2 separate regions of the Homo sapiens genome follow, and region 2 is linked to region 1. Evidence: promoter capture Hi-C in human tissues and cell types (Jung and others, 2019). All regions are on one chromosome and are shown on one strand. The core of a region is centred on a gene start or on the middle of the fragment in contact, and the rest is flanking DNA. Distances in the headings are between cores, read along the strand shown. Region 1 holds the start of OC90 (otoconin 90). Region 2 overlaps HHLA1 (HHLA1 neighbor of OC90).

What was found. The method cuts DNA at HindIII sites, captures the fragments that hold promoters and counts their contacts. A contact is called where the count stands out against the background at its distance.
Region 2: a fragment that was not itself captured here is called in contact with the fragment with the promoter of OC90 in region 1 in 2 of the 25 tissues and cell types used here (hippocampus and pancreas).

What each region holds. Positions count from the first base shown.
Region 1 is chr8:132,057,428-132,061,757 of GRCh38, reverse strand. It overlaps OC90 (otoconin 90), which reads left to right and starts at 2,376. Exons shown (of 14, transcript NM_001080399.3): 1 at 2,376-2,417. HHLA1 (HHLA1 neighbor of OC90) reads left to right here. Exons shown (of 17, transcript NM_001145095.3): 17 at 1-278. RefSeq lists enhancers at 2,729-3,305, 3,306-3,883. The HindIII fragment of the contact is 9,699 bases long and covers 1-4,330 here.
Region 2 is chr8:132,092,478-132,096,807 of GRCh38, reverse strand. HHLA1 (HHLA1 neighbor of OC90) reads left to right here. Exons shown (of 17, transcript NM_001145095.3): 6 at 1,022-1,105; 7 at 1,206-1,289. Among named protein-coding and RNA genes, the nearest start is that of HHLA1, 17 kb to the left of the region's middle. The HindIII fragment of the contact is 7,831 bases long and covers 1-4,330 here.

The sequences.
Region 1 (4,330 bases), core at 1,127-3,626:
ACGACTGCCTGGAGTCCAACTGGTCTCCTGGAGTTCATAAGAGGTTTGACCCCTTCTGAGCTGAATGTGTCCTGATTTAGGGGATAGCTAGGGCAATAAGAAAGCCTCAGGGGGTGCTACTGATCTGGAACTCCTACTAATTAGTGTGTATGTATGTGGCCACCAGTGGTTAGCAGATGAGGTGAAAGAGATGGGACAGTGACTGTATCTGTTCTGATGAAGGAGATTGTGCAGTTACATGCGTAACGTCATTAAACTTCATTCTTCCAGGTAGCAAAGGTGCAGGCACATTTCTGTTTATTTCATTCATGCCCAGAAGACCAGCTAAGTTGTCAAGAGAAAGAAAGAGAGGGACAGAGAGAAGGAGGAAGGGAGAGGGAGAAGATGAGGGAGAGGGAAAGGAAGGAGGGGAAGGGAAAGAGGAGAGGGAAAGGGGGAGGAGAAGGGGGAGAGAGGAGAAAGATTGTGTTTGTTTCTTGGCCCCAGTGCATGGTTCTAAGTGTTTGTGTGTGTGTGCGTGTGGCTCCCTATTTCTGCACAGGTGCACTAGTGCTGTGGGTTTGTGTGAACGAGACATTTAGGTGCTGTCATAATTAAATCTAAAATTTTAAACTCTCATTTAGAACAGACTTTATCCTCTTATGTCTGGGTTCTTGTGAAAACTTCACTCTCACTTTATTCCACCAACAGAATGGTAAAAGGCCAAGGTTCCAGGGATATTGAAGGCCAGTGGTTTTCAATCAGGGGTGATTTGGCCCCCAGGGGACACTTGGCAATGTTTGGAGACATTTTTGGTTGTCACAACAAGGTAGGGAGTGCTACTGGCATCAGCTGAGTAGAGACCTGCGATATTGCAATGCTCGGGACAACTCCTACAAAAAAAGAATAATTTGGCCCAAATGTCAACAGTGCTAAGATTAAGATACTCTGTTGTAAGCTATGGGAAAAAATGATCCTTCTCAAAACCCCATGAAATGTCTCGAACAAGATACCTATGTAGATTGTTATGCCTTTGTATTGCTCAGGCATAATAACAATCTCAGTTATGCTCTTGAGCATAATAACAATCTCAGCTATGCTCTTGAGATGCTGAAAAGATGGATTTTGCTGCACTGAGCCATAGATGCCCACGGGCTTAGTCATTTTAGAGATGGTGGGTCTTTGGTGCTAATGAGAAAATATTACAGACAATGCATCTTCATTCCTCAAATCACATGAGATGCTGAACAATAGTTAATGATCTACAAACACAAGCCTCAATGAATGAGAGTAATTACTTATTTGAAGAAGCCCTTCAATGGGTTCTTCCATAGAGGCTCAATTGTGCCCTGATTTAATCGTTTGAGGAGTCCTGCTTCTTCAGGAGGTGGCCATAGAGTGAGCAACTCAGAGGGTTCACAGCCAGGCTAACCTGCATTCCAGAATGCTTCCATTACACGTGAGCTTCTACAATGCCTCAACCTCAACGACACCATTTTTTCTCATCTGTAAAGTGGAGCTAATTAATCCTTGCTCCTAGGATTATGAAAGCAGTAATGGAAGGGCTGCTGCAGGGATGATGAGGGCAAAATCCTATAAAACACTTGTGGTACATTACACGTACTCAATAAATGCCAGTTCTCCTTTCAAAATCAGGAAAGAAAACCCTTCACAAGGCGATATGAGGAAGTGACAAAAAGAACTAGGACTTAATGAGCCCCCATACCACACACTATATATGGCTTTCTTCAGCCTCGAAATCTTAGTAGGATTAAGCCCATTTAACAGATGTGGAAGCTAAAGCTGAGCAGTGACAAACTCAAGGTCACACTGCTACTCAGTAGCAGGGCTGGCAGAGGAACCTTGGGTGTCTGATTATAAAGCCCCACCTCACCCTACCCCACAGCTTGGGCAGAAAAGCCCTAAAGGAAAGAGGCATCAAATTCCGAGATCTGAGGCCAAGAACATATAAGAAGAATCACGCTAGAAATCCTCTTGCTAAAGAATGAACTAGACCAGACAAAGCCAGCCCTTTATCTTGCAGGAGAGCCCACATGACTTTCATCAGTCTTTCATCCCCCGAGAGTTCCCATGATGACCCTGAGACATAATCCATGGGCCTCCTAGCCTTTGAGGTGAGGTGGGGTAGAACAGGGAACCCATTGTTCTCTAATTAGAGCCTGAGGTCTCCTCTGAGGCTCAAGATGGGGCTTCTTAATATGGAGCCTTCACCTGTTCCAAGCTATAGTATTATGATGCCTCCTCCCTTCAGAGGCAGCCCACCTGCCAACATTCATGAAAGGCTTCCTTCTTGATGTGAGGAGTGGGGAGAGGCATCACATGGCTAAGGGTCTTTCCTTGGGGTATAAAGGACTCAGTCTGCACCTGTTCAAACCCTAGCATCATTCATCCAGCTGCACTCCAGTGGAGCCTTCACGGTAGGCATCTGTTATTCCTGATGGTTGGGGAGACAGAGAGCAGGGGAGGGAGGGAGGGAGGAAGACAGCAAGTAAAGGAGGGAAATGAATGGGAGAAGAGAAGAAGGGAGGGAGAAAGAGAAGGAGGGGGAGAGGGAGGGATGGAGGAAAAGAGTGAGGGAGGGAGGGAAATGGTTGGGAGATGGAAAGAGGCAGAAAGGGTAGGAGGAAGGAGGGGAGGGAAGAAAAGTAGGAGAAATTGATGAAGGAAGAAAAGGAGGGAGAAAGAGAGGGTAGAAGGGAGGGAGGGAGAGAGGGAAAGAGGGAGGAAGGGAGAGAAGAATGGAGGGGAAATGAGGAGATAAATGAATGGAGGATAAGGTGGTAGGGGATGCTCTCAGGGCTGTCTGAGACCTGGATGTTGCTCCAGGATATAGCTGAAAACCCAAATTGCTCTGAGTCGATCTGTGAAAAGATGCAATGCCAGACAGAGAGCACCTGGCAAATTTACCCGGGGGAAAAATCCACCACTTCACATTAGTGAGGATCCTACATAGCCCTGGGCAATGACCCCGCCCACGGCACCTGGTGTGGAAACACAATCAGCATTAATTATGGGCAGTCCTCACTGAGCACTGAGCAAGTGCCGGAGATGGTGTTCTACCTTTATAAGACTCATCAGATTTAACCCTCATGATTCCCTGATGAAAAAACACCATTATATGCATTTCGCTGCCCAGGAAAATGAGTTCCAGGCATCTTCAGTGCCTGGCTCAGGGCACTCGACAAGCAAAAGGCAGAGCCTGAACTCCCTGACCCCAGCCCAGGTCTGTCCGACCAGCAAGGCCTTGGGCTCAGACACTGGCTATGCAGCCATGAGACCGGCCATTGGGAGACAGCTAGGGGAGCCGGGACTCCAAACCTGGCATGCAGACCAAGGCGAGGCTTCGGGAGCCTTCTCAGGCCCACAAGGACAGCACTGACCCATGAGGCCACGACAGCCCCAGAGACTTCCTTGGGCAAATTAGGAGAAGGAGGTCTTTCCTCCAGGTAGACACAGCCCCACAGCCAAGGGCGCCTGACTTGGCCAACAGGAGGATACTGGATTTCAGAAGCAGCCCCACACCATCCCACCCACGTACCCTAATGTGCACGTACCCCAGATTCGGGTCATCCTCACTGTTGCCCAGGGCTGACCACGTGCTTCTAACTGGCACCTTCTAGCTGGCACTGACTTTCCTTCTTTGTGCGCAGCAAGGAAGCTGTCACCTGCTGTGTTTCACCACACCCTAGCAAGAAGCTGGCCACCCTAAGGGTCTTCCCAAGCAAGTACTACCGATAATTGTGACAGTTACGCAGTGAGTCATCACTGGAATGCTTAGTTTGTCTCAAAGGACCGGCCTAGCAGTTTAGGGTATTGGAGCCAGAACAAGTCAGACTGGCCCACCTGGGTCTGGTCATTGCCAGAGCGCCCCCTTCTGGGCAAGGGCCACCCTGGCAAGTGACTCACCCTCTGAGCCCAGTTTCCTGGTCTAGAAAGTGAGACGTCTTGATAGCCAAAGTCTTGGAGGGTTGTCACCAGACAGCAAGTGGGGCATGCTCAGTGGAACACCTGACACAAAGAATGACCTAATCCATGAAATGTTGTGTTTAAAGGAATAAGGTCATGAAGATTATTACTTACTTTTTAAAAAGTTGTGGTAAAATATACATAATATTGACCATGTCAGCCACTTTTAAGTGTACAGCTGAGGAGCATTAAGTGCATTCACATTGATATGCAATCACGCCACTGTCCACCTCCAGGACTTTTTCATCTTCCCCTACTGAAACTCTCCCCATTATCGAAGAACACCCAATCATACCTCCTTATAACTTATTGCAAAAATAAATTAGAGCATAGTCAAAATTATGTCTCTAATAAAGTCATTTTG
Region 2 (4,330 bases), core at 713-3,212, 35 kb before region 1:
GAGAACTTTGTTAAAATTCAGAACCCTGGGCATACCCACCTTTCCCCTTTCTTCACCATCTGATTTAGTAGACCTGGGATCACATCCAGGAATGTGCCCTTTTAATAGGTGCACCTATTAAAGGTGTGTTGATGCAGGTGGGTGATTCTCAGACCAGGTCTGGAAAGATCTCCCTCTGCTGCACTGTGCTCCAGATATAAACTAAGAACAGGCACTGATGGAGAGTAGATAAGATGCTCATGCATGTATTCCTAAACCTGATTGTTTATGTTAGTATTCCTGGTTTAAAAAAAAATCCCCTTTCTTTGTGTAGTAGACTGAAAATGGCCAAAGATATCCACTTTGTAATTACCAGAATCTGTGAATACTACTTTATATGTCAAAAGAGTGAATATCACCTGATGTGATAACAGATTGATTGAGTTAAAGATTTTGAGATGAGGCCATTGTCCAGGATTATTTGTGTTGTGCCGGATGCCACCACAAGGGTCCTTACAAGAAAGAGGCAAAGGAGACACACACAGAAGAAAAGACCATGTGATGATAGAACAGAGAGAGATGTGGCCACAAGCCAAGGGACACAGGCAGCCGCCAGAGCTGAGAGAGGCAAGAACAGATTCTCCTTTAGAGCCCTTGAAGGGAGGGTGCCCTACTGAGTTTCAGACTTCTAGCCCCCAGAACTGTGAGAGAACAAATTTCTGCTGTTTTAGGCCACCAAGTTTGTGATAATTTGTTACAGCAGCCTCAGGGGCCTAATATGCCTTGGGAATCTTTCTTAGAGAGTTGCCACAGCTTGAGGATGGATCAGGAAATATAGACAAATGATACATACTCTTCAGCTTTTTGGTTTAGTTTTACTTTGTTTATTATTTTTTATTTGTATTACTTTTTTGTTTGTTTCTTTATTTTCATCATTGGTTTCTTTATTGGCATTGTTAATTTCTAGGGACTGTTTACTTATTTGTATTATTGTTACGTTAGTAGGCATCTGTCTGTCTCTTTATCTGGTATGTTTTGGCAGATAGCAAGAAGTTCTTCTCCTTGCTGAGTGTCACTTCCTACAGTTCCTTCGCCTTCCACAAGTTTTCTGTAGCTGTTTACAACAGTGAGTGCTGGCTGGCTCTTCTTGATGGTGGTGGTGGTAGGGATGTGTTGCAGGGCTGGTCTGTGTGTTAGGATCTCTGTTGAATCCTTTCTCTTCACAGTTTCTAACCTGAAGACAGTAGACCCCGCCAAATTCCCCACAAGGTATTGCTACTGTTTAAACAATCGGACCAATGACTTATCAGGTGGGTACAGCTTACCATGAGGCTTGCAGCTTTTCCAATTTTGCTTGTGTCCTTTTAGATAAGTTTTTGTTTTTCCTCAATGTAAGACAGGAAAATATGGTCCTATCCACTACCCTTAACCATGTGCTCATTCATTATCCCAGTGAAAAACAGTTGTGTGTGCAAAAGCAACAGGAGGAAAATGTTCATGAAGCATTGTTTTAATTGCAAAAGTGAGGAACAACCTAAATATCCATCATGAGGGAAAATGGTTAAGTAGTCTCCCACATAATTAAACTTTCAAAAACAGCCACAGATAATACATAAATGAGTGAGAGTGCTCAAATTTGGCCTGTGCATGGAAAAGCTTCCAAGAGATTTTTAATTAGAAAAAGAAAGTTACACAAAAATACAAAGAGCACAATGTTATTGATAAGAACACATATGTGGGCACCAGATAGGTGATTCCCTTTGAAAAGAAGATTGGAGTATGTGTTTTGGAGTGGAAGAATGTTGGTTAAAAGAGCCTTAGATTATCTGAACTTTTTTTTCCCAAGGAGAGTATGTTCATATGCTAGTTTTATAAATAAAACTTTAAAGTATTATGTGTTCCCTATTTTAGAGAATACTGAAAAATAAAAGTGACAATTTTTGCACCGTTAATTCACCCATTCAGTAATTCCATCTGAGCGTGCACTATGACCCATGCACTCTTCTAGGTGTGGGGAAAGCACACAGAGCAAAGTGAACACACCTCCTGCTCCCGTGGGACATAGATTCCTAGCGGGGAGCAGGGAGTAAATAAATGTACTGCAAGTACATGGTGTGTGGGCTGACAGCCTGACCATGGGAACCATGAAGCAGGGGAAAGCCGGAGGGAAAAGTCACAGTGGGGGATATTGCTGTGTGTAGGGTGGTCAGGAAAGTCTTCTCCAAATGAAGTGAGGGTTGAGGGGTGACCTTCAGGATGTGAGGGGCCAGCCCTGTGGTTGTTCCTGGGGACAGTGGTCCAGACAAAGGCCTAAGCAGCAGCATGAGGACCAGAGAAGCCAGCATAACTGGAGCAGGTTAGCCAGGACAGAGCTATAGGAAATTAGCTCTGATTGGTGAGGGCAAAGTGGGGAGGGTGTTGCAGATCATATAGAAGTTTAAGGTCTGCTGCGAGGATTCTAATTTTCACCCGGAATAAGAAGGAAGCCATTGTGATTGTCTGCACAGGGAAGGGACATGATCTGACATTTTAAAAGAATCCTTCTGGCTGCTTGTTAAATACGAGATTGTAAGGGAAGCAAGCACTAAAGGCAACCAAAGCCTCTTGTACTTTTCCCCACTTAGTCTAATATTAACCCTTCCACCATATTACAAACTCTTCTTAAACACTTGTAATGACTATGTAACCAGTGAATGCAAGCATTCTCTTAGCCACTATGCTGTTCTTAGACTTTTGAGTGGATCTAGGTTTTTCTTAATATAAATAATTTTGCCTTGGACATCTTTGTGCGTAAACTCTTCCCTGTTTCAGATTATTTCCCCCACTGAGTAGAATTTCTAAAACAAATATTGTGAAAATATTAAAGGAAAGAATTACTAATATATAATAAGTACTATATGCGAGATGCTACAATGAGTGCTTAATGTCTATTATCTTATGTAATTTACCCTGTGAATCTCTTCAACAAATACATTTGTGAGGAAAAAAATTCTTCATAATCATGCCTTTCTCACCATTTCATTAACCCCTGCTGAGGATAGAAGTCTGTGCTGGGTGAGTCCCTATCCTGATTGTGTGAAAGATAAAAATAAGATTTAAAAAGTTAAATCTGCCTGGAGAAAGTTTATAATTTTATTTCATGAGTCAAATCATATTTTCACACACTTGCAACAATTATATGAAAAGAATGATCCATGGATCATTATCTACTGATAAAATTGCCTGGTGTTCCTCTGGTAGGTCATAGCAACTTTTGCCAGGTTTGACAAGAAGTCACAGCGCTACCATGAGAGGCTGTACACGTAGGCCAACAACTTGCCGTTGCTCAACACCTTCGGGGAAGGTGACTTTGTGGATGATCTTTAGATCTGGATCATTTTCTTTTTAATGTTTTCAACTCTGATCTAAAGCCCTCCTTTGAGGGTATATTTGCATATTTTCCCTTTTTTTTCTTCCTAAATGAAACTGGCTTAAGTTTTCTTAATTTTAAAAATAATGTACTGTGATATCAAGATGCTATGCAACATGGACAGGAAAACTAAGAAACCAGAAATAGCTGATATCCCACCATCCACTGGTAGTCACTATTAACATGCTAATAAATGCTATCCAAGGCTGTCTACACTACCTATATAACCCACTTATCTATCCAACCTGTCATCTAAGCTACTTATCTAACCTACCTATCTACCTATGTACCCCAGCTAATATCTACCCATCAGTGTAGACATCCTGCTCTACATATAGGAACCCATTCTCTGCATTATTTAGAATACAGGGTGGGCTACTATAACAAATGACTCCAAAATAGCCTAGTTTAAAGAAGGTAGAAGTTAATTGCTTTCATGTCTGATAGTCTGGGCATGTAGACATGCCAGGGCTGCTCTAATGGTTTGATGGTTTTGGGGCCCAGGCTCCTTCTAGCTTGTTGCTTTGCCTTTCATAATGATCTGTGTTCTCATAGCCTAAGGTAGGTTGCCAGCACATTCACACTCCAGCTACAATGAAGAGGAGAAAGGATTTGGAAAGTGTATTAGTCCATTCTCACATTGCTATAAAGAAATACCTGAAACTGGGTAATTTATAAAGAGAAGAGGTCTAATCAGCTCATGGTTCTGCAGGCTGTACAGGAAGCATGAGTGCTTCTGCTCAGCTTCTGGGGAGACCTCAGGAAACTTACAATCATGGCAGAGGGGAAGTAGAAGCAGGCAGATCTTACATGACTAGAGCAGGAGCAAGGGAGAACAAGGGGAAAGGTGTTTTAAACAAGCAGATCTCACAATAACTCACTCACTATCATGAGAACAGCACCAAGGACGTGGTGCTAACCCATTCATGAGAAGTCTGCCCC